Linked DNA regions of Homo sapiens: regions 1, 2, 4, 5 and 6 are each linked to region 3. The links are contacts of gene promoters, found by promoter capture Hi-C in blood cells and fetal thymus (Javierre and others, 2016). All regions are on one chromosome and are shown on one strand. Each heading gives the region's core, a stretch centred on a gene start or on the middle of the fragment in contact. The rest is flanking DNA. Distances are from core to core; before and after follow the strand shown.

Region 1 (3,568 bases), core at 1,056-3,555, 5.8 Mb after region 3:
TGCAAGCTGCCGAATCAGTGAATGAGCCTCAGGTAACAAAGGCTTTTCAAGACAAGCCAATAAAGCATAAAGCCATCTTCCCTAAAAAAAAATTCAAAAAATTAATATTTAGACAAATACTGAACCAGAAGTTTATTTTTTAAATGTCCAATGTTATGCCTGATTATCTGCTATGAATAAATTCATAGAACATTTAACTATATTATGTTTGGGTATAGACAAGAAAGCCTCATTTGGAGAGCCAGGTGTTATCTCTTGTATCCTATAATTACAGACACAGGACATTGGATACCTCAAAATATTCCCTGATCTCCAAAGAGTTTGTTTCAGATATTCTTATGATAGGAAGTTCTCATTTGTAAGCAGAACACTACATTAAGATGAATATAAATACTGGAAAAAATTAAGATACATTTTTTTCTTTGTTCTGTATGGACAGATATAGAAATCATTTTATAATTGTATAATTTTGTCCTCTGGGGACATACAAAGAAACTATACTACAGATGAAATAATCTTTTGACACTTTTATAAATACTTTGACAGGCTCAATGTATCCCCACTCCCTTTTAAAATGGGGTTTTCAGCTACAAAATGAATACATATTTGATGCAGAAAAACTGTGAAGAATACCACAAGCACAAGAAAAAACCTGCAGTCCCAACATTCCAGATCAAACTTTGATTCACTTTAAAAATGTTCTTGTTTTTCCTATTCGTATGTACAACTTTCTTTTTTTTTGAGACAGAGTTTCACTCTTGTTGCCCAGGCTGGAGTGCAATGGCGCGATCTCGGCTCACTGCAACCTCTGCCTCCCGGGTTCAAGCAATTCTCCTGTCTCAGCATCCTGAGTACCTGGAATTACAGGCATGTACCACCACACCCGGCTAATTTTGTATTTTTAATAGAGACCGGGTTTCACCATGTTGTTCAGGCTGGTCTCGAACTCCTGACCTCAAGTGATCTGCCTGCCTTAGCCTCCCAAAGTGGTGAGATTACAGGCGTGAGCCACCATGCCCGGCTGTACAACCTTTTTTCAATACAATTTCATCAGTTGTAATATCATCTTGTAGCCATCTTTTTTATTTATAATACATAATAAAATGTTTACCATGTTGTTTTTGTCCTTTTTCTTTTTTTTTTCGAGATGGAGTCTCGTTCTGTCATCCAGGCTGGAGTGCAGTGGTGCCATCTCGGCTCACTGCAACCTCTGCCTCCCAGGTTCAAGCAATCCTCCTGCCTCAGCCTCCTGAGTAGCTGGGACAACAGGCGCCCGCCACCATGCTCAGCTAATTTTTGTATTTTTAGTAGAGATGGGGGTTTCACCATGTTGGCCAGGCTGGTGTCGAACTCCTGACCTCAAGTGATCCGCCCACCTCGGCCTCCCTAAGTGCTGGGATTACAGGAGTGAGCCACCCCACTCAGCCATCCCTTGTAGTTAAATGGGATTAACAAGGGAATGTTAAGTGTCTTGTTTAGAGTATTTAATAACATTCCCTTGTTTAATCTCATTTAACAACATGGGGAAAGTTTATTAAGTATTGCAAGTAAAATGGTGACAAAGGGTATGTATATTCATCAAGGTTTTTCAGATATGATCACCAGATTGTATCCTGGAAAGGTTATACCAAATTTGTATTTCCACCAGTAGTATATACAACTTTGTTTATTCTAAGCAACATATCACTTCGGGGAAACCTAAAAAATATTAGGACAAAATTTAAATAGCAATTTATACAACACACTAAATGGGTTCCTCAGGCAAACTCAAATCAATAGTTAAGACTTTTTCTTACAGAAAAAGATTCAAATCCAGGTTTCTTTTACAAATTGTGGAATTCTTTTTCTATAAAAAAAAATTATATGTTTCAACTTGACTCAAATTTTAAGGGATACATTTACTATGTAAAGCTAGCATTTAAATTAAATATTTAATTTAAATTAAATATTCTCTACACTTGTCCCAGCTACTCAGGAGGCTGAGGCAGGAGGATTGCTTGAACTTGGGAGGCAGAGGTTGCAGTGAGCCGAGATGGCACCACTGCACTGCAGCCTGGGTGACAGAGTGAGACTCCATCTCAAAAAAAAAAAAAAAAAAAAAAAACAAACTTGTCTGCAATGAGATAAGGAGTTTGTACCTTGTACCAGGATATACATCAACTCTTTCATTGACTTTTTTTCTCCAAGACTTTCTCAATGAAGGAAGTAGTATGTTGATTTACATTCTAGTGTTTCTTATTTGACTACAAACAAGTATAGTTCAGATTATACATATGTATATACACACACACACACATATACAAATATAAATATAAATATAAATACTGGCTGGGTGCAGTGGCTCACGCCTGTAATTCCAACACTTTGAGAGGTGGAGGCGGGCAGATCACCTGAGGTCATGAGTTCAAGACCAGTCTGGCCAACATGGAGAAAGCCTGTCTCTACAAAAATACAAAAATTAGCTGGGTGTGGTGGCAGGTGCCTGTAATCCCAGCTACTTGGGAGGCTGAGGCAGGAGAATCACTTGAAACCAGGAGGTGGAGGCTGCAGTGAGCCGAGATCGCGCTACTGCACTCCAGCCTGGGCAACAGAGGGAGATTCCATGTCAAAACAAACAAATAAATAAAAAATAAATAAATACCGTAGCATCACATCAAGTACAGTCATGCATCACTTAATGAAGGGAGATATATTCTGAGAAATGCATTGTTAGGTGATTTTTGACCCTGGATGAACATCATAGAGTATACTTACACAAACCTAGATGGTATAGTCTACTATACCTAGACTATATTGCATAGCCAATTGCTCCTAGGCTACAAACCTATATAGCACATTACTATACTGAATACTGTAGGCAACTGTAACATAATGGTAAACATTTGTGCATCCAAAAAAACCATATATTTATTTCTTAAGATAGGGTCTCACTCTGTCACTCAGGCTAGAGTGCAGTGCAGTGGCACAATCATGGCTCACTGCAGCCTCAACCTCCCTGGCCTTAGGTGATCCTCCTGCCTCAGCCCTCCCTAGTAGTTGGGATTACAGGCATGAGCCACTGTGCCTGGCCAGATCTAAACATATTTAAATACTGGAAAGGAGCCGGGCTCAGTGGCTCATGCTTGTAATCCAAACAGTTTGGGAGGCCAAGGTGGGAAGAACACTTGAGCCTAGGAGTCTGAGATCAGCCTGGGGAACATGGTGAGACCTCGTCTCTATTTAAAAAACACAAAAGGCCGCACACATGGTGGCTCATGCCTGTAATTCCCAGCATTTTGGGAGGGTGAGGAGGCAGGATCATTTGGACTCAGTTCAAGACCAGCCTGGACAACACAGTGAGACCTTGTCTCTAATAAAAAAAACAAAAAACAAAAAACAAAAAAAACTGGGCGTGGCTGCATGCGCCTGTAGTCCCAGCTACTCAGGAGATTGAGGCAGGAGGATTGCTTGAGCTGGGGAGATCAAGGTTGCAGTGAGCTATGATTGTAATACTGCACCCCAGCCTGGGTAACAGAGCGAGACCTTGTCTCAAAAAAAAAAAAAAAAAAAAAAAGAAAAGAAAAAAAGA
Region 2 (3,873 bases), core at 906-3,405, 6.9 Mb after region 3:
ATCCTCAGTTCTAGTCACCACAGACTTCTCTCTTTCATCATTTTTCCTCTGACTTCTAGTCTGGCAGGAGAAGCTGAGTAGGGGACATTGGCCCTTTCTGTTGCCTCAGGGTATAACCTTTGAAACCCAGGAAAAGACCTCTCCTCTGCTTCCTGCCCATCTGCTGTCATGTTTTTTACCTGCAAAAATGAGAACAGAATCATCTAGCTGCTGAAACAGAGGAAAGGATAAAAAATTAAAGAAAAAACAAGGAGAAAACTGTTAATATTTCAAAACCATTATTTTTCCAAACACGGCCACCTACTAGCTTTCTGAATGATAATGTAGGAGAGGTGACACCAACAAAAATAGAACTAATTGGCTGGGTGCAGTAGCTCATGCCTGTGGTCCCAGCTACTTGGGAGACCTCTAACAGGTCCTGGACATCAGTTTATGTCACTATGTACAGATTAACCACAGTTTTAATGGATATGTAATTTTTCACATTACAGATACATATTGGATATAAAATATTTCATTGTATGACATACTATAGTGTATCAAATTATTTATCTGCTTGTTAATTTTTTCCAATTTTTCAACTGTACTTCAATAAGTATTCCATATGTATATATTTGTGCAATTCTAAGAATGCTTCAGAAGTATACATTCTTAAAGTGCAAGTAGTAGCTCAAAAGGCATAAGCACTTTATATTTTAGTGGAAATTTCTAAATAGTCTTTCAAAGACCTTCTGGTTGGCAGTAGTCTCGCCAACATTGGATATAAGTGCCCAATCTCCTTATGCTGTTAATTTTTATTGGGACATAAAAATTGTGTGTTTACACAAAATTGAAAATGATGTGTTTACAAAGAATTTTCATATATGCCATGGACCAAATTGTATTTCTCCAAAATTCATATGTTGACTCCCTAACCCCAATGCTTCTATATTTGAAGATAGAGTCTGTGAGGATGTGATAAATGTCAAATGAGGTCATAAAGCTGGGGCCCTAATCTGATAACAATGGTGCCCTTATAAGAAAAAGAGAGACATCAGAGTTCCTATCTCCACTGTGAGAGGACACAGAGAAGATGGCTGTCTCCAAGCAAGGAAGAGAGCCCTCACCAGAGACTGACTATGTCAGGCCTTGATCTGGGACATCTAGCCTCCAGAACTGTGAGCAGAAATTTTTCTGTGTTTAAGCCATGCAGTCTGTGGTATTTTTATTACGACAGCCTAAGCAGACTAATACACACGTCATTTCATTCAAAACTCCTGTCCATGCAAAGGGATACCACCATTCCTAATTTACAGGTAAGGAAATGGCATTAAGAACGTGCTCAGATCACATGGTTTTTAATTGGTGATGCAAGGAGTAGAAGGCAGCTTTTTTGACTTGCAGTCAGGTGTTCCTTTTTATTACGGAAGAGTAGTCTTGTTCATTACAATTCCAGCTCACTTATTAGCTACTACTATGGGAAATCTATTGAAATCACAAAATGCTTGAGTTGTAAAAGTCTTTGGAGGTTATCTAGTCTAGCATAGAAAGTGAGGCCCTGAAAGATCAAGTAATTGGTCCAAGATGACACAGCTAGTTAATGGAAAACCTAAGATTGTTATTCAATTTGACTTGAGTCTAGTGTTCTTGGATTTTTTTTTTCTTTTTTTGAGACAGAGTCTTGCTTTGTTGCCCAGGCTGGAGTGCAGTGGCATGATCTTGGCTCACTGCAACCTCCATCTCCTGGGTTCAAGTGATTCTCCTGCCTCAGTCTCCCGAGTAGCTGGGATTACAGGCATGCGCCATCACGCCCAGCTAATTTTTGTATTTTTAGTAGAGACGGGTTTCACCCTGTTGGCCAGGCTGGTCTTGAACTCCTGACTTCAGGTGATCCACCTGCCTCGGCCTCCCAAAGTGCTGGGATTACAGGCGTGAGCCACCACGCCCAGCCCTTTAATTTTGACATAATCATATTTCAAAGTTTAATTTTAATGTATAAATTATTCCTTTGTAAGTATTTCCAAATACTACTATAATTCTATAAATATGGTTATTTTTCAGGTCACAAACTTTATCTCATAAAATAGAAGTTGCCCTTTAAAATTCCAATCAGATTTATATTCTGATGTCCTTTGGTAAAGTGATGTAGCACATAATGGCCAGTGTTTGTTTCAGTCTTTTTTTTAAGCATGATTGAGCCTTTTTCTTTTATATATGACTCTATTGCAGGACTTAGTTCATTCAGGGGCTGAAGGCTTCCACATCTCTCGTTTCCATGCTAATTAAAATGTCAGTCTCTTCTTCAGTCTTTGGATATGTGCAACAGGAGATTAGAGTTTGTCTGCTTCCTTTATATCAGCAAAATGGATCACACTGCTGCCAGGAGAGTCCCATTAGTGTCATAAATCATAGAAACACTATACACTTTCTGAGAATGAAGGCTGATAGTTGGAGAGCAGTATAGTAATTTTTGCTGACAGTTACCCCCACCAGGACAAAATAAGAGAGTCCTGGGATCAAGCCACAGATTATTCTCAACATTAGCAAAGTGAGATGCTTTTTGAAAATAATTACTTTCCCTCTACAAAGTGGTATAGATATTTTTATCTTTTTTTTTTTCAAAATTAGTTTTGGCATTTAGTTTCCCAGAATATAAGACTTAAATTGAAAATGGCAGAAAAGTCATTCAAAACCCTCTTCTACTTCCCTTAAATATAACACATTCAGTAGCTTGGTGATTTCAAATATATTTTTTCCCAAATAACAAAGGAAATTAAACTCAATAAGTTATGTGTTAAATACACCATGTAGATTCATTATTTTTTTAAAAACTGCCTATACGGTAGAATACCTAATACACAACTGTGGTTATAGCAGAGGAACTGAAAGGTAACACTGATTCACTGAATGTTTCCAAGACTCAGGTTAACCTATAACTAGAAACAGCTTGAAGACATCTGATTCATGTTGTTTCTAGTGTCCAGAGTAATGGAGCTTTTAAAAATCATTTCACAATACCACAAGTATTTACTCAATCTGTATGAGTTGTACTTCTCTTTTAATGAAAGAGTCAAAACACAGTTATAATAATTCCCAGTAACACCACCCACAGAGAGCTGATTATCAAACTATCTTATTTATTCAAAATGAAAGGTTTCTCTCCATTCAGAAGAGAATATAACAAAAGAATAAAGGGAGCAGGAAGCAGGATACTGGAGAAAAGAGAGAAACGGTGAGCCTTTCTGCACATCAGAATCACTCAGGGAAGATTTTGCAAAACACAGGTACCCATATTTCCCCCAGATATTTTCATTCACCTGGTCTGGGTTAGGGACAGGCGTAATTCTCATGCTTAACTTAGATTGAAAACCACTGTAAGAGAATCAACAGGTACACATGAGGATATATGAGGTATCTCAGTGGACTCAGGAGCACTGCAGAGAATGGACACTTCTGTTATTGAAAGGTTGGCATTCTAGGTATGTGCTCTACTACCCCCAAAGGTGGATGCTCTTGGAGTCTTGCCAGGGAAACAATGGTCAATCCCACCTGCTTGTTCTGTGTGCTTGAGCAAGGTACTCAATATTTGATGTTTCACTTCTTCATTTGGAGAATGGGAATGATAGTACTATCTCATGATCATTAGGATAAAGTGCAGTAATCCACATGAAAGGCTTAGCTCAGCACCTGGCATGTGGTAAGTACTCAGTACATGTTATCTGACCACTTAGTTGGGAGAAAATCATCAGAGCCTTTTTTTTTTTTTTTTTTTGCCGTTTAACCACGTACTAACTGATGTATTTATACACACACACACAGCTCAAGCGAAATGTGCTAAACATTTCTGCTTACAAAGGAAACAGAAGTGGTCATGTGGTAATGGAGCCCTCACCA
Region 3 (3,445 bases), core at 390-2,889:
AGGAGTAGAACTAGGGTTAAATTTTCCCAGCACCTGCTTTAGTTCTTCGACGGCCTGGGTCCGGTTCTTATAGTCTTCCTGATCCAATAATCGTGAATGCAGCTCCTGAGGAATAATCCCAAATTTAAGATTGCTGTTGGAAAGAGTCACTGCACAGGGAAGGGGATCTTCAGGAAATCCAGAGGCTTCAAGTTCCAAATAATAAGGAACCTGACTTCCAAACTGGGACTCCAGGCGGCGATTGTAGTGTCTCCTCAGGGCAGAGGGCAGACGAGAAATGTAAGATTGAAACCTGTCTTGGCCAAGTCGCTCCCCAATTTGTTGAAGTGCGGAGAAAGCTGTCTCAGATTCTTCTTCTGTCTCCTGATCACCAAGCTTTCGGGCTAGGGATATTATCACCTCGGTGAGATCCAGACCAAGCAACAAGTCCTCAGTAGTAAGCAAGATGGGAAGCAGTAGTGCTGTGGAAGCTCTAAGTCGGGCATCGGTACTTTCCAGTCCTTGTTGTATAAGCGTTCTCAGCACCTCTCCAGGACTACGTTTCAGACATATATGAAGGATCTGCAGCGCATCTTTCCGCAGGGCTGGATTCTCTTCCCGTAACGAGACAACTAGTTGAGGCAAAAGTGCTAAGCTAAAGGCCTCTTCAAGCTGGCCTGCCTCCCCCTGACCCCGGAGAACGTCCGAGAGAAGTTGCAAGCAGAGCCGCTTCTCATCACTACCTCCTTCCACAAGCACTCGGCCCAGTGCCCGATACAAAGCTTCCTTGCGTCGGGGGAAGCCAAGTCGACCGCCCCGCCGCGGCAAAGCAGCTTGCAAAGCCTGGAAGGCCTCAGAAGGATCCCGGGCAGTGCGGAGGAGTTGAAGGAGCCGAGTGTCCTCTTCATCTCCCCCTGACAAACCGCCTCCAGACTCAGACCAGCTGCTTGAGACTGCCTCCGAGGGCATCAAGAGGGCCGAGGCCAGAGGCGAAGTTGTAGTGGGGCAGGAACCGTGGTCCCCCGCAGCTCCACGGAAGTAGTAGTTTTTCTCTCCTCTCATAATGCCCCCAACTCGACTATCATCGGTCTCTGGGGCGGAAGGACGACTGCGGCTCTGGAGCCGATAGGTAGAGAGGACTGGAAAGGGCGGCAGCAGAAGCAGCGCGGAGGGGGCAGCCGCCATGCAGGGTTGTCAGGTGGTGGTGGTTGGAAGAAACCATTGCCGTCTCCAAAGGGCTCGATGGAGCCCAGACTTCCAGATCCTCTCCAAGCCCCAAGCTGCAGAAGAGGCAAAAGAACAGCTTCAGCCTGCCGCCAGGCCGCCCCCAACTCCGGGAGGCAGCCTCTGGCAAAATGGCCCCCGTCTGAGCCCTAGACCCCACAGCTGCCACCGGGCGTAACCAAGGGCACCACGTGACCAAACCGATTGCTTCCATGGTGATGTACCCAGCGCGGACCTCTTGACCCGGAAATCCACTTGCCGTGATGAATGCTGGGTTATGTAGTCCACGTCAGGTGTTGAGACTAGGCCAAAGTCTCCTGGAAGAGGAAGTCAGAACGTTGTAAACGCAGCTACAGCGGAGAAGGGAGGAGGGGTGAAGCCATTTGACGGATGTGACGCTTTCCTTGCTCTGGGCGGAAGTTGCCCGCCCCACCCGTAAGAGTTAGGGTTTGACCGGAGCTAGTGAGGATCCAGCCCAGGCTCCAGTTGTCCGCGGTTCCTCCTCCTGTCGCTGCCCGTGTGATTACTGAGACTCAGGTATTTTCCTTTTGCTGTCCTCCAGCGGTGCAGGCTTTGGCAGTGTTTTGCCCGAATGCCACTGGTGCTAGAGTAAGAGGCAAAGGACTGAGCGGAGCAGGTGGAAAGAGAGGCGACATCTTCTTGTGCAGGGCTCGTCACCCTTGTAAACGCGTTACTCTCTACCACCCTGAGTAACTGCGATCCTTTCCTCTTGCCATCTGCTTATCAGGACAGAAGATCTGGACCACGGCCAAGCTCACAAATCGGGTATTTTTTTTCAATTCCTGGTCTTTGGGGCCTTTATTCGCCTCCCCCTTCTCCTTTTGTCGACTTCTCTTAACCCTCCGGCCGCAGAGGGTTAATTTTTTTTTGTTTTTGTTTGTTTGTTTTTGGCAACGTTTCCTTACCCTCATCACTTTGCGTTTTCTTTACAACGTACATAATATGGAAATAGGTCTGTTTTTTTCCCCCTGTAGCTAACCGCCTCTCCCTTAGACGTTATCAAAATCTTTCCTTCTAATGCAGTTCCTCTGTGGGACTCTCCCCTAACCTCCGCCCCCTCCGTCTGCCGCCCTAGCCTCCCTGCAGGATCCTCAAGCGTCTCTGCAGCCTTTCAGTCTCCTAGAGACAGAGATTGCGAAGACAATTTCACTTGCGGTGGAAGTTCTTGGCATCATGGTTCTAAGAGAATTCTGCCTTGTGGATTTAGGAATGATAGTAGACATTTATTTATTTTAGGCGAACTGAGAATTTTGTGTGCATTTTCTCCTCATAAGTGATACTTAAACGGACACAGTGGAAGAGCTGGAGTGTCTAGTGTGAGCCTGAATGCTTTGGAGTGTGGAAGAGATATTTTTTTTTTTTGAAGGAATAATACTATTACTTTTGAATGACTCGTGCGAAAAGTCTAAGTTATCATTTGAAGACCCAAATTTATGCACTTCAAATGCAAGTATTCCTACCCTGCTCTGTACCAGGTGGGATTTCTCTTAAATACTTTTTAAAGTCTTGGAATAAATGAGTCACATATGCCAAACAGCTTTATAAATAATGCTCCCAGCTGATGCAAGTGCAAAAATAATTTCTGGATTTTTGCCTTAAAGTACGATTTGAATATCAGTTTTGTTTTGTTTTGTTTTTGGGGGGGTGGGGGTGGGGAATAGACTATAATGTAAATGAGGCTGTGTAAATATACATCCTATGTTTTGGTTTAAATTCTAGGCTGTTACTTTGGTTTTAATGAGCCATTTTCGTGTTTAAATGAATCTGCCTAAATTAGGTTTAGCTAGCATGTTTCATTTTAGGGACAGGTTAAAGACAGGGAGGTGAAAAACAAGAAATGATTGTAGCAGTTGTCAATGAGAAAGTGTCTGGTTCTCACAGTTCCAACCTAAGAAGCTCAAATGTGTAGACTTCTAGTCATGTATTGCCCAGACTTGAGGAACCCAGTTCAAACTAACCTAGACAATGATGTACACATTACAGTGCCAGTTTATGTTGGATCAGAATTTTCAAGTTGAAAATCCAGTGCACTCTTTCTTGTATCCAAGAACTTGGGAAGCCAAGTTAATAACTAGAGGTTGTGTGGTAATCATGGAATCACAGAAAAGGAACTTCGAAAGTCTTAAATGAGAGACGTGGATACTTAAGCAGTTATCATGCCCTTTTCCTGGGAACAAAGCAAGATGAGTCTTCCTTTTGATTCTTGTTTTTTTAGATCCCT
Region 4 (3,582 bases), core at 866-3,365, 5.8 Mb after region 3:
CGTTTTCTGTTCCTATACACATTTTAGAAACAGCTTGTCCATTTTCTCATACCTCACCTCCCTCTTCCTACACACACTGCTGAAATCTATACTGGAATTATATGGAATCTGAAGAACAACTTGATGAATATTAACATCTTTATTATAGTGAATCTTCTAAGGATTGAGCCTGGTACATTCTTCTACCTATTTCTTTTAAAAATTGTCTCAATCTTTTATGGTCTTCTGCGTAGACAGTTTTCATTTTTCCTTTCCAATCTTCCTCCCATCTATTTCATCTTCTTGCCTTATTGCACTAAGATGGTTCATCCAGTAAAATGTTGAATACATGCAGGAATACTGGATATCTTATTTTGTTCCCAATCTCAAGGGGAAAGTGTTCAATATTACACCATTGTGTATCCTCTTCATATATGGCTGGACTTAATCTTCTAATATTTTGTGTAAGATTTTTACATATATATGTGAGATTACCATGTAAATTTCCCTTTCTTGTGATATATTTGTGACCTGCTTTCAGGGTCATATACGCCTCATTAAATGAGCTAAGAATTGATTCCTTTTCCTCTATTCTCTGGAATTTGTATGAATTGATAAAATTAGTTAATGAAATCTTCTGGACTGGAGTATTTCATCTACTCCCTGCCTTCATCTCCCTTCAGGGAAAAGGTTTGAATTACCTTCAAAGGAGACTGTCATGTGGCTTCTCAACACAAACAATGGAATGCAGAAAACAGATAATTAAAACAATAATTCAAATTGCAGAAAGAAAATACTCACCAATAGAACTCCAAACTGAACAAATATATCCTTCAGAAAGGTAGGTGAAGTAATTTTATGACAAACAAAAACTGAGATAATATCACCAGAAGATCCACACTAATGGAAATTCTAAAAGATGTTCTTCAGGCTAAGAAAATGTGGCATGTATAAGCAATGGAATACTATTCAGGCATAAAAAGAGAATAAAATCCTGTCAACTGCAACAACATTGATGAGCCTGGAGAACATTACATTAAATGAAATAAGCCAAGAATAGAAAGACAAAAAACACATGACTTCATTCACTCATATGTTGAATCTAAACAAAACTGATCTCATAGAAGTTGAGAATAGAATAGTAGTTACCAGAGACTGGGGAGAATAGGAGGAGGGGGTAAATGGAAGAACGTTGGTCAATGCGTACAATGTTACAGTTAAACAGGACTAAGTTCTGACACTCTATTGCACAGTAGGGTGACTATAGCTAAAAATAACATATTGTTTTGTTTTTTGCTTTTTGAGACAGGGTATCACTCTGTCACCCAGACTGGAGTGCAATGGCACAATCTCGGCTCACTGCACCTCTGCTTCCTGGGCTCAAGCGATCCTCTCACCCCAGCCTCCTGAGTAGTTGGGACGACAGGTGCATGCCACCATGCCTGTCTAATTTGTGTGTGTTTTGTAGAGCTGGGGTTTTTCCCAGTTGCCCAGGCTGCATAGTATATTTCAAATAGCTAGAAGAAAGGATTTGAATGTTCTTACAATAAATAAATCATAAGTGGCCGGGTGTGATGGTTCACGCCTGTAATCCCAACACTTTGGGAGCCTCAAGCCCAGGAGGTCGAGGCTGCAGCAAGCCGAGATTGCACCACTACATTCCAGCCTGGGCAACAGAGCAAGATCCACAGATGTAAGAAGGTATGAAAAGCAATGTTAAAAAGCGGTATTCAATAAATAAATACTGAATGTTGTATAAATCAATAATAATGTATTGTGAAGCTTAAAATATAAGTAGACAAACTACATAGAAAAAGTACCATAAATGGACTAAAATGTTCTAAGGGTCTTGCATCATGTATGGATGTGTGTTGTAAATTCTAGGAAAACTGAAAACCACTGAAACAACTGTAAAAGAATGCAGAAGTATCAATTTAACAGAGGGAGATAACAGATTAATAATTATTCATCCAGTTCAAAGGAAGAAAAGAAAAACACAAAATAGGCAAAACAAAAAAAAAGGCGGGGTTGAGGGCAATTAGCCAGGGCTCGGTAGCTCACGCCTCTAATCTCAACCCTTTGGGAGGAAGAAGCGGATGGATCTATTTAACTGGGTCGCTTGAGCTCAGGAGTTTGAGACCAGCCTGGCCAACATGGCGAAACCCTGTCTCTACCAAAAATACAAAAAATTAGCTAGGTGTGATGGTGCAGGCCTGTGGTCCCAGCTACTTAGGAGGCTGAGGCAGAAGAATCACTTGAGCCCGGGAGGTGGAGACTGCAGTGAGCTGAGATTGTACCACTGCACTCCAACCTGGGTGACAATGAGACTCCCGTCTCAAAAAAAAAAAAAAAAGCAATTAGTAAAATGCTAGATTTAAACCTAAACGTGCCAATAAACTTAAGCAGACTGCCAAGACAAAGGCTGTCCTAATTTTTTTTTAAACCTACTTATAAGACACATTGTTAATAAAAGGATTACAGAAAGCTTGAAAGTAAAAGGATAGGAAAAGATAAACCATACCAACATTATCCCAAAGAAAGGTTAAGTAGCTATACTAATGGCAGGCAAAGTAGACTTTAAGACAAAAGCCTTGTTTGGAATACAGATATCTGAAAATTCCAAAAGGATTAATTCATAAGGAAGATAAAGCAATTTTAAATGTATATGCACCTACTATAATAGCCTCAAAATATGTAAAATAAAAATAGAAAGGAGAGGCCGGGTGTGGTGGCTCACATTTGTAATCCCAGCACTTTGGGAGGCCAAGGCGGGTGGATCACGAGGTCAGGAGTTCGAGGCCAGTCTGGCCAACACAGTGAAACCCGTCTCTACTAAAAATATAAAAATTAGCTGGGCATGGTGGCAGGTGCCTGTAATCCCAGCTACTCGGGAGGCTTAGGCAGGAGAATAGCTTGAGCCCAGGAGGCGGAGGTTGCAGTGAGCCAAGATGGTGCCACTGCTCTCCAGCCTGGGTGACAGAACAGAACTAGGCTCCATCTCAAAAAAAAAAAAAGAAAGGAGAAAGATAAATCCACAAATCACAGTGGAAGATTTTAACATACTTCCCTTGGTATGTGATAAAACAAGCCCACAAAGACTTGGTAAGGATATAAAAGATTTAAATAATACAAGTAATAAAATTGACCTAATTGGCACAAGCTAAACTGCATATGATAGCTAAAGAATCAACTTTTTTTTCAGGGCCACATGCCTATAGTTTCTAAACTTAATCATATGCAGGGCCCAATAGCAACTCTCAACAAATTTTAAGTGATTGAAACTATACAGAGAATGCTCTTTAATGAAAGTGGAATTAAGCCAGAAATAGATAATAAAAAGATAATTAGAAATTCCCATACATTTGGGATTTGGTTTTCAAAAGTTTTATTATGATGTGCCCATGTGGTTTTTTTAAAAATTACTTATTTTTTTGAGATCCGGTCTCATTCTGTCACCCAGGCTGGAGTGCAGTGGCACAATCACAGCTCACCACAGCCTCAACCTCCCAGGCTCAGGTGATCCTCCCACCTCCACCTCCGGAGTAGCTAGGACTACAGGTGCCCGCCACCATGCCCAGCTAATTTTTGTATTCTTCGTAGAGG
Region 5 (3,749 bases), core at 170-2,669, 5.9 Mb after region 3:
TGGCTTAAATGGCTTCACTTAGGAATTGTCTTTTAATTTCTTTGTGCTCTCCCTTTTCTTTGTTCTTTCATGTCCCTCTGGCTTATATATTACTTGAAAATTGATTTCCTAGCAGGACTGACTTCTATCATTCTTGATTATTTTCCTCCTCTCCAAATTAATTTCTCCTCTTCTGTGTAACAAATTATAACTGTTTTGAATGCACTGGAAATAAGTATCCTTCTAATCAATTTTAGAATGAATTATTTTTAGTGCTAGGACATGTAGCCTGTGATTATATGACAACAGCATAGTAAATTTTGCTTAGGTTTTACTCCATTATATTTATACAGCATAATGCTCCAATTCCTCAAGGAGGGCGTGGTGCAATCCAGTTTGTGACTCAGTATCAGCATTCAAGTGGGCAGAGACGCATCCGAGTGACCACCATTGCTAGGAAGTAAGTTGTATTTGTTAGAGATTTGATTTTCATATCACAGGTATCTGGGTTGTGTTTCCAAACTGGATTCCTATTTTGGGTGACATCCATGACTAGCAAGTGAATATTTGTGACTAATAGTATTTTATTTATTTCTTTCTAACCCAGCTTATTTGCTACAATATGCATTACTAAGAACCGTAAGAGCAATTTTAAAAAGTACTTCTAAGACACACCCTTCAAAATATTATTTTATTTACCTCATTCCTGTGAGAGGAGAAAAATCAGATATTTACCTATAATAGTCAATAATAATATATATAATCCATTATATATATAAATGATATAGCACAGTAATTAATCACATTACTTTTCAATTAGTGATAAAAATTCTTAGCTATTTTTTTTTCAAGTTTTATTAGTCATTTAATTCATTTATTATGCCATTACTCAGCTTCTGCTTTGTGGAGTAGGTTCTGTTTTAGGAGAGTATGAATGCGGAAGCCGTGAACGTACTTAGCCTCCTGCTGTATGACAGTGTGGTATAGAGTCATCCTCACATTGTCTGTGGTAAAGGGCCAGTTGTGTTTTTTTTCCTAATCCTTCGGGTACAGATGCTTTTATTAAATACAATAAAAATGAATTACTAGAAAAATGAAATTTTAAAAAGTGATTTAAAACAAACTCCCTGTTTTATATTATTAGATTAATAAGATATAAGATTATTTTGTGAAGTTGCTCAGTTTCTAAATATTTATTCTCAGTTCCTCTTTTGACTTCATGGCACTGGTTCACATACCACACTTTGACTAGCACTTGTTGAGACCACAAAAGGTAAAGTCTCTATCTAACAGATTCAATTATAGGGTAGTATTTTGTGTAACATAGTCATGTTCTAATTTATTGATATAGGCAGGGTCCCCAGAAGGGAATAATAAGGCCCAACAGATACCTTTTCTTATTCCTATCTTTGTGATAGATTTTCCAAATAAGGCATGTATTTGTTCATGGGCTCTTTGCCCAGCATTTGCAGAGACAACAAATTTAACTGAATTTAGTACCTTTCTTTTTATTAAGAATTACGAATAAATTATTTCTCTGCTACTTTGGTATCTCTGTGTATTTGTGAAGTATAAAACAAAAGGAAAATAATTGTGGAATGAGTTTAGTTAGGAAGAGGTTTTTTAGATGAGGTGAATCTAGAAATGAACAGGCTTTGGTCTTTATTTCTGTTTGTCTTGAACTTGGTTGTCTGGATAGGAAAAGTGTTGATCAGTAAACTTACCCAGTTTAGTCATGGTCTCGACAATGGACAAGGAAGGCATTTGTAGCTCTCATTTTCATTAAGTGTACTTAAACTCTAGCTTCATTCCTGAAAATCTTAAGACTTTTGTTGAGTGATGGACATGAACACAACATTTGAACTGAGTATTAGCTGTATTGGGTGATCTATTACTTAGCACAGGGTTGTACATAGATTTAGTGTTCTGTTCTGTTACCTTGCTTTGACTTAACATCCTGGAACAATGTCAAGGGGATACATTATTCATTTGAAGAAAAAATGTCAGCTGAACCTTCCCTTAGATTTATTCAGATTTCAGATAAGGAACTTGGAAGTACTGATGCTTGGCAAACTTCTCAGTTTATTTATGGCTCTCAACGTGTGTGCACACACACACACATGTGTGTGCACACATTAAATTTGACATTCAGAACATTTGCTTAAGGAAACAACGACATACCAAATGAAGGACTTTTTACAACTTACAAAGTCACTGGTTTGTACTATTCAAAAATGTCTTGGAAGACAAAGAAAGTCTGAGCAACTGATCCAGATTAAAGGATACTAAAGAAACATTACCACTAATGCCAATGTGTGATCATGGACAAAATGCAAATGTCAGGGAAAAATTTTGCTTTAGAAGCCATTATTAGACAATTGGGGAAATATGAATATAGTCTCTTTCTATATGATAATGGCATTATATCAGTGTTAGATTTCATGAGTTTAATAATTGGAGCTATATAAGAAAATTTTTTGTTCTTAGGAGATATACACTGAAGTATTTCAGGCAGAAGGTCATAATATCTCCAACTTAATCTAGAAAAGTTCAGCAAAAAATGTGTATATAAATGGAGAGAGAGAATGATAATGCAGATGTGTTAAAATGCTAACAACTGATGAATCTAGGTGATGGTTATATAGGAGTTTATTCCACTCTTACTGTCTTTATGTTTGAAATATTTTTAAAATGAAAATTTTAAAAGGTTAGGTGACTCTTTCAAGAGACAGGGTGCTGTCTTATGAGAAATATTATGGGCTTATATATTTTCAGTTTGCACAGAATTTATGAGGCTATTTGTAGAGACATATGTGTGTTATGGTGCCATTTATAGCATTGTGTCTTACCAAAAGCATCCGTCTTTTCAAGTTAACTTATCCCAACCATTTCCAATGATCAGAGCACCTTGTTGTTTTTTTTTTTTTTTTTTTTTTTTTTTTTTTTAAACTAGGACTATGACTTTAGGGGCCTAGACAAGTGTTTTTGTTAAGTGAATAAGCCATATGAAAATAAAGGCTCCTGAGAAGACAAAGTTACTCTATTTTTCATGTACAAAATGACTTTGATCTAGGAATTTTGGTTTAAACTAGTTGTAAGAATCACAGTGAAGGGATACGGGAAATGTAGAAGACAGATTTTTACAATGTCAAGAAGCCCTTTAAACTTGACTTTAAGAGCCCACCTTTTAATTTATGTCTAAACAAATAATAATTAGTAAATTTGCATGTGTTCACTTGGAATGTATTTCCTCTCCTGCACCATTATATTTTCAGAATTAAAAAAGTCACCTTTGTAGTTCAGTTTAAAGCAAATAAATACCGTCATTCAAGTTTAGAAAGTATTGATTCAAACAGTGTTGTTTTAAATTCTTTGATTTTTAAAATTAAAACTAAAATAATTAATAAAACACTAAACCAAACTATTAGTATAATCATGAAGTCTTTAAATTGCATTAAAACATAACTTTCAAAATTACCAATGTCTTCTTTTACACATTCTCAGTCTTTTTTGCTTCTTACTGTTTACTACACTGAGATAATTCACACGTTTCAACCATCTGGGAAACATTTAATAATTATTTTGCTTATTGAAAGAAAATTAAAAATACAGAAAGAAGGCCGGGCGCGGTGGCTCACGCCTGTAATCCCAGCACTTTGGGAGGCCAAGGCGGGTGGATCATGAGGTCAGGAGATCAAGACCATCCTGGCTAACAAGGTGAAACCCCGTCTCTACTAAAAATACAAAAAATTAGCCGGGCGTGGTGGCGG
Region 6 (3,744 bases), core at 1-2,500, 5.9 Mb after region 3:
CCAGGAGTTTTAAAAGATTTAATTATTATTATTGTAAATTATTTTTAATTGATACCAGTTTCTAATGCCCTTTACTTGTTAAGAATAATACCTGTTTTAACTTCTTGCCTTTGTTAAAAAAAAAAAAAAAACCTGTAATACTGACAGGGCTTTTTTTTTTTTTTTTTTTTTTTTTGCTTTTTCTTTGTTTTATGGTGATTTTTACTTTTTCAAGTAGCTTGTTAAAGGAGAAATCAGAAATGCACATGATTGTTTTATACAGAGGTATAAAGCTATAAAAGAATGTGTTGACTGATTCAGCTAACTTAGAAAATAAACCAGGCATAAGTTTTTAGATGATTTAATTACATGGTGTTTAGAGCTACTTACCTATGGATTGATTCAATTGCTTTCACGTATCATAAGCTTAGGTAGATAGCTTTTAGCTAACATTCATTTGATAAGCATAGTGTTTTAAAAATTTTCTGACTTATGTAAGTATTCTTTCATTTTACTTTTAAAGGAGAAGAAATATTCTAATTTTATATTTATTAAGAATATTTTCTCTACTGAAATTGTAACTTTTAAAAAATTGAGGTAAATGGAATAATGGTCTATAATTTTTTTAGTTTCTAAAGATTATTTTCTTTGGAAAAATCTCAAGATTTTTGGATGGGCAAGAAATTTAAAGTAATTTCTTTAATTGTTTTAAAATTAGACCATAGCACAGTGGCGGAAGTCAGGATACCAGGATATGCCTGAGTATGAAAATTTCCGCCACCTTCTGCAAGCCCCAGTGGATGATGCACAGGAAATTCTTCACTCCAGATTTCCAATGCCAAGATACATTGACACTGAACATGGAGGCAGCCAGGTAAGTAGTGTTAATTTGTTTGTGTGTTTGTTTGTTGTTAGGTTTGCAGTGAGGTGTACCTGCTTGCCTTCTGATTTTAATAGATTGCTTCATAAAGCAGACAGAAAGGTAAGGAGATAGGTGGGGAAGGTATCAGTGCTTACTTTTTGCATTAGCTTTTGAGAGCAAAACAGTAAGATTATTGACTAGTTGCCTAAACCTGGCACTTTCCATCATCTTCTGTCTCTAGCCTAGCTTCCTGAACAGGGCCAGGATGGCATTGTGGTGGTATACTAGCTTTGGTTGAACAAGAAAATGTGAACAGCTTGGAAAGTAATATACTTTTCTTAAAGCCGTTTATTTACTGTTAAAGTCTATGAATATGACATTTGTGGTAACTTACATTTTTTCATTGTCTTCATTCTATCATTCCAATTTTCTAGAAAATAAAATTTTATGTAATAGGAAAACACTGTAGTATTATGAAAAGGTTTTGTGGCTTTTAGGATTTTGAGGATACATATACGTTAGATACATATACATACATACACAGTTGCTTTGAGACCTTCAGAAGGCTAAGTTAGGTTCCTTAACATACTCTCATAAAATACTTCTTACTTCTCTTTTGTAATTCTTATAAGAGTTATAATAAATTAATTATAAGTTGTTATTAATTTGTTTTACATGCTCTTTGAAGGCAGGGACTATGCTTTGTATTCCCTAGTGCCTAGTACGGTATTATAAAATAGGTAGCAAATATCAGTAACTGTTATTCAGAAATGATAATTACTATTAGTTTTACTGTATTTATATGAGAGTTATTTCATATTGAGAATTTGCAAAGTACTTCTGCATGCCTTATCTCATTTGATCCTCATAAGAATTCTAGTGTTATTTTCATTTAACAGATAATAAAACTGAGATCTAGGTTACTTATGGCCAAGGGAACACAGTAAATACAGGAGTGGGATTTGAGTCCTGGTACTCCAGGGCCAGTGCTCTTCACTGTTAGGTTAAACTGATTCCTTAGAGAGTAGAAAAAGATTTTGTATGATACTAAATTTCAAAAGATGTTACTGTCTATGTGCTTCCATTATGAGTTAAAAATCTTACTGGTTCTTTCATTGATGTCTCACTGTGTGTATTACCATTTTCCTCTTTTATTCTGGTTATTATTTTCATGATGATAAGCCATAGTGGGTAGAAGGATAAAATGTTGGATCACTTGTCTCATAGAATCACCTGTGGTTTAAGAAAGCTTAAGGGTCATTATTTTAAGCAAAAGAACATACAGATTTTCATGGCTTTTGTTTTTATCATTATTTGGGATTTTGAACTTCTGACCAAGTGTTTAGTAATTTCACACCAACCTTGTCATAATTGTTGCACACATAATTTTTATATGCTGAGTTTTGGACTCAACAATGTATTTGTTATTTTGGATGTATGATTTGGAGAGAAGAGGTGCATTTATTATTTATTTGTAACACTTAGTGACCTATACATTTCAAAGTTTAATCTTTTAAAAATTAAGTTAATAAAATTAATTTTACCAACACATACTAAATAAAATTGATTTTGCATGATATAATTATTCAGCTGATATTGACTGAAACCATTTTTGATGGATAATGTTATTTCTTCTTTGCTTTTAAGGCCCGTTTCCTCCTTTCAAAAGTCAACCCTTCACAGACTCATAATAATATGTATGCCTGGGGGCAGGTAAGTTTAAATAGCAGGTCTTGGAAATTATTTCTTTGTGTATTTATTGTTTATTATTTTAGTGAAAGCTACATTTTTTTCCTGTGTATTTAGTAATGGTTTCTGTTGGAAAAGTAATGTAAAAATGAGAGTAGAAAACAGAATTAATATTTGGCGACACCATAGGACAAAAGTGATCCTATCAAATAGACTCCAAGTTTAGCACTATACCCTTGAGACAAAAAGCAATGAAGTGTGTAAGACAGGAAGTGGTGACTCCAGTTTAATGCTAGGTTGTGAACCACAAAAGGCCACGATAAGCCAAGAGAGGCCAGGGATCATAGTTGAGAAGGAGGGGCAGGAACCCTGCAAATCATTATTGATATAGTTTAATTTGGTAAAAGTCCTGCTGGGTGTGGTGGCTCATGCCTGTAATCCCAGCTGCTCAAGAGGCTGAGGCAGGAGGATCACTTGAGGCCAGGAGTTTGAGACCAGCCTGGGCAACATAGCAAGACTCCATCTCTTAAAAAAAAAAAGTGTTAACCTCTTGGTATAACATATCAACATTTATTGAGTGTCCAGTATGTTTAGGACTTTGTATTGGCTCTTTAGGGTGCAGTTATTACCCATGCCTTTGGAGAGCTTGTAGTCTAATATTAGAGATAAAATACATACCTAAGTAAATTACAAGGCAGAATGGGATATTTGTCCTTAGAAAGCTATGAAGTATTACAAAGGTTAGAAGAGGAAGATGGCAAGAGGTCACATAGTGGTAGCAGGAAGAGGGTGTGTAATCAGAAAAGAGCTCAGAAAAAAGAAACATTTCATTTAAAGAATGGTTATTTCAGTAATTGGAAATTGCATGAGGAAGGGAAATCTAGGTAGAGAATAGTATGGGCTAAGATAAAAGACTACATGCAGAGCTGACTAGAAGAACATAAAACGGAAATGTGTTGTACAAGTAAATTGTGGAGGATCTTGAATGTCAGGTTGAGGAGTGAGAAGTTGAGTATTTATTTGGTAAGTAATGGAGAGTCATTGAAGGTGGACAGAGGGCAGATTTGAGTCTTAGTATAGTTGAATCTTAAGATTAAATGGAAGCAGTCTGTAGGTTGAAAGTATATTTACGAAAATAATCCAAGTGAGAGGGAGTAAAGGCAAGATGGTGAAAGGAATAGATTTGGGAGATATTTTAAAAGTAGACTCAATAG

The links. Contacts are between HindIII fragments. The CHiCAGO score rates a contact against its expected background, and 5 or more counts as called.
Region 1: a contact is called between a fragment that was not itself captured here and the fragment with the promoter of KLHL28 in region 3, in 4 of 17 cell types (total CD8 T cells, total CD4 T cells, M0 macrophages and 1 more). The highest score is 7.1, in total CD8 T cells.
Region 2: a fragment that was not itself captured here is called in contact with the fragment with the promoter of KLHL28 in region 3 in 1 of 17 cell types (total CD4 T cells); the score reaches 6.7 in total CD4 T cells.
Region 4: a fragment that was not itself captured here is called in contact with the fragment with the promoter of KLHL28 in region 3 in 5 of 17 cell types (total CD8 T cells, total CD4 T cells, non-activated CD4 T cells and 2 more); the score reaches 18.1 in total CD8 T cells.
Region 5: a contact is called between a fragment that was not itself captured here and the fragment with the promoter of KLHL28 in region 3, in 2 of 17 cell types (non-activated CD4 T cells and total B cells). The highest score is 7.0, in non-activated CD4 T cells.
Region 6: a fragment that was not itself captured here is called in contact with the fragment with the promoter of KLHL28 in region 3 in 7 of 17 cell types (non-activated CD4 T cells, M0 macrophages, total CD8 T cells and 4 more); the score reaches 9.9 in non-activated CD4 T cells.

What each region holds. Positions count from the first base shown.
Region 1 is chr14:39,128,471-39,132,038 of GRCh38, reverse strand. GEMIN2 (gem nuclear organelle associated protein 2) reads right to left here. Exons shown (of 10, transcript NM_003616.3): 8 at 1-81. Among named protein-coding and RNA genes, the nearest start is that of GEMIN2, 16 kb to the right of the region's middle. The HindIII fragment of the contact is 9,579 bases long and covers 1-3,568 here.
Region 2 is chr14:38,078,528-38,082,400 of GRCh38, reverse strand. No RefSeq gene overlaps it. Among named protein-coding and RNA genes, the nearest start is that of SSTR1, 130 kb to the left of the region's middle. The HindIII fragment of the contact is 6,051 bases long and covers 1-3,873 here.
Region 3 is chr14:44,960,141-44,963,585 of GRCh38, reverse strand. KLHL28 (kelch like family member 28) reads left to right here and starts at 1,639. Exons shown (of 5, transcript NM_017658.5): 1 at 1,639-1,740. It overlaps TOGARAM1 (TOG array regulator of axonemal microtubules 1), which reads right to left and starts at 1,396. Exons shown (of 20, transcript NM_001308120.2): 1 at 1-1,396. The coding sequence starts at 1,164. RefSeq lists enhancers at 939-1,453, 1,103-1,912, 1,454-1,968, 2,483-2,572. The HindIII fragment of the contact is 5,188 bases long and covers 764-3,445 here.
Region 4 is chr14:39,188,941-39,192,522 of GRCh38, reverse strand. No RefSeq gene overlaps it. Among named protein-coding and RNA genes, the nearest start is that of PNN-AS1, 15 kb to the right of the region's middle. The HindIII fragment of the contact is 703 bases long and covers 1,764-2,466 here.
Region 5 is chr14:39,058,455-39,062,203 of GRCh38, reverse strand. It overlaps SEC23A (SEC23 homolog A, COPII component), which reads left to right. Exons shown (of 20, transcript NM_006364.4): 13 at 333-439. Among named protein-coding and RNA genes, the nearest start is that of SEC23A-AS1, 43 kb to the left of the region's middle. The HindIII fragment of the contact is 9,282 bases long and covers 1-3,749 here.
Region 6 is chr14:39,037,841-39,041,584 of GRCh38, reverse strand. SEC23A (SEC23 homolog A, COPII component) reads left to right here. Exons shown (of 20, transcript NM_006364.4): 18 at 698-853; 19 at 2,489-2,554. Among named protein-coding and RNA genes, the nearest start is that of SEC23A-AS1, 63 kb to the left of the region's middle. The HindIII fragment of the contact is 1,685 bases long and covers 408-2,092 here.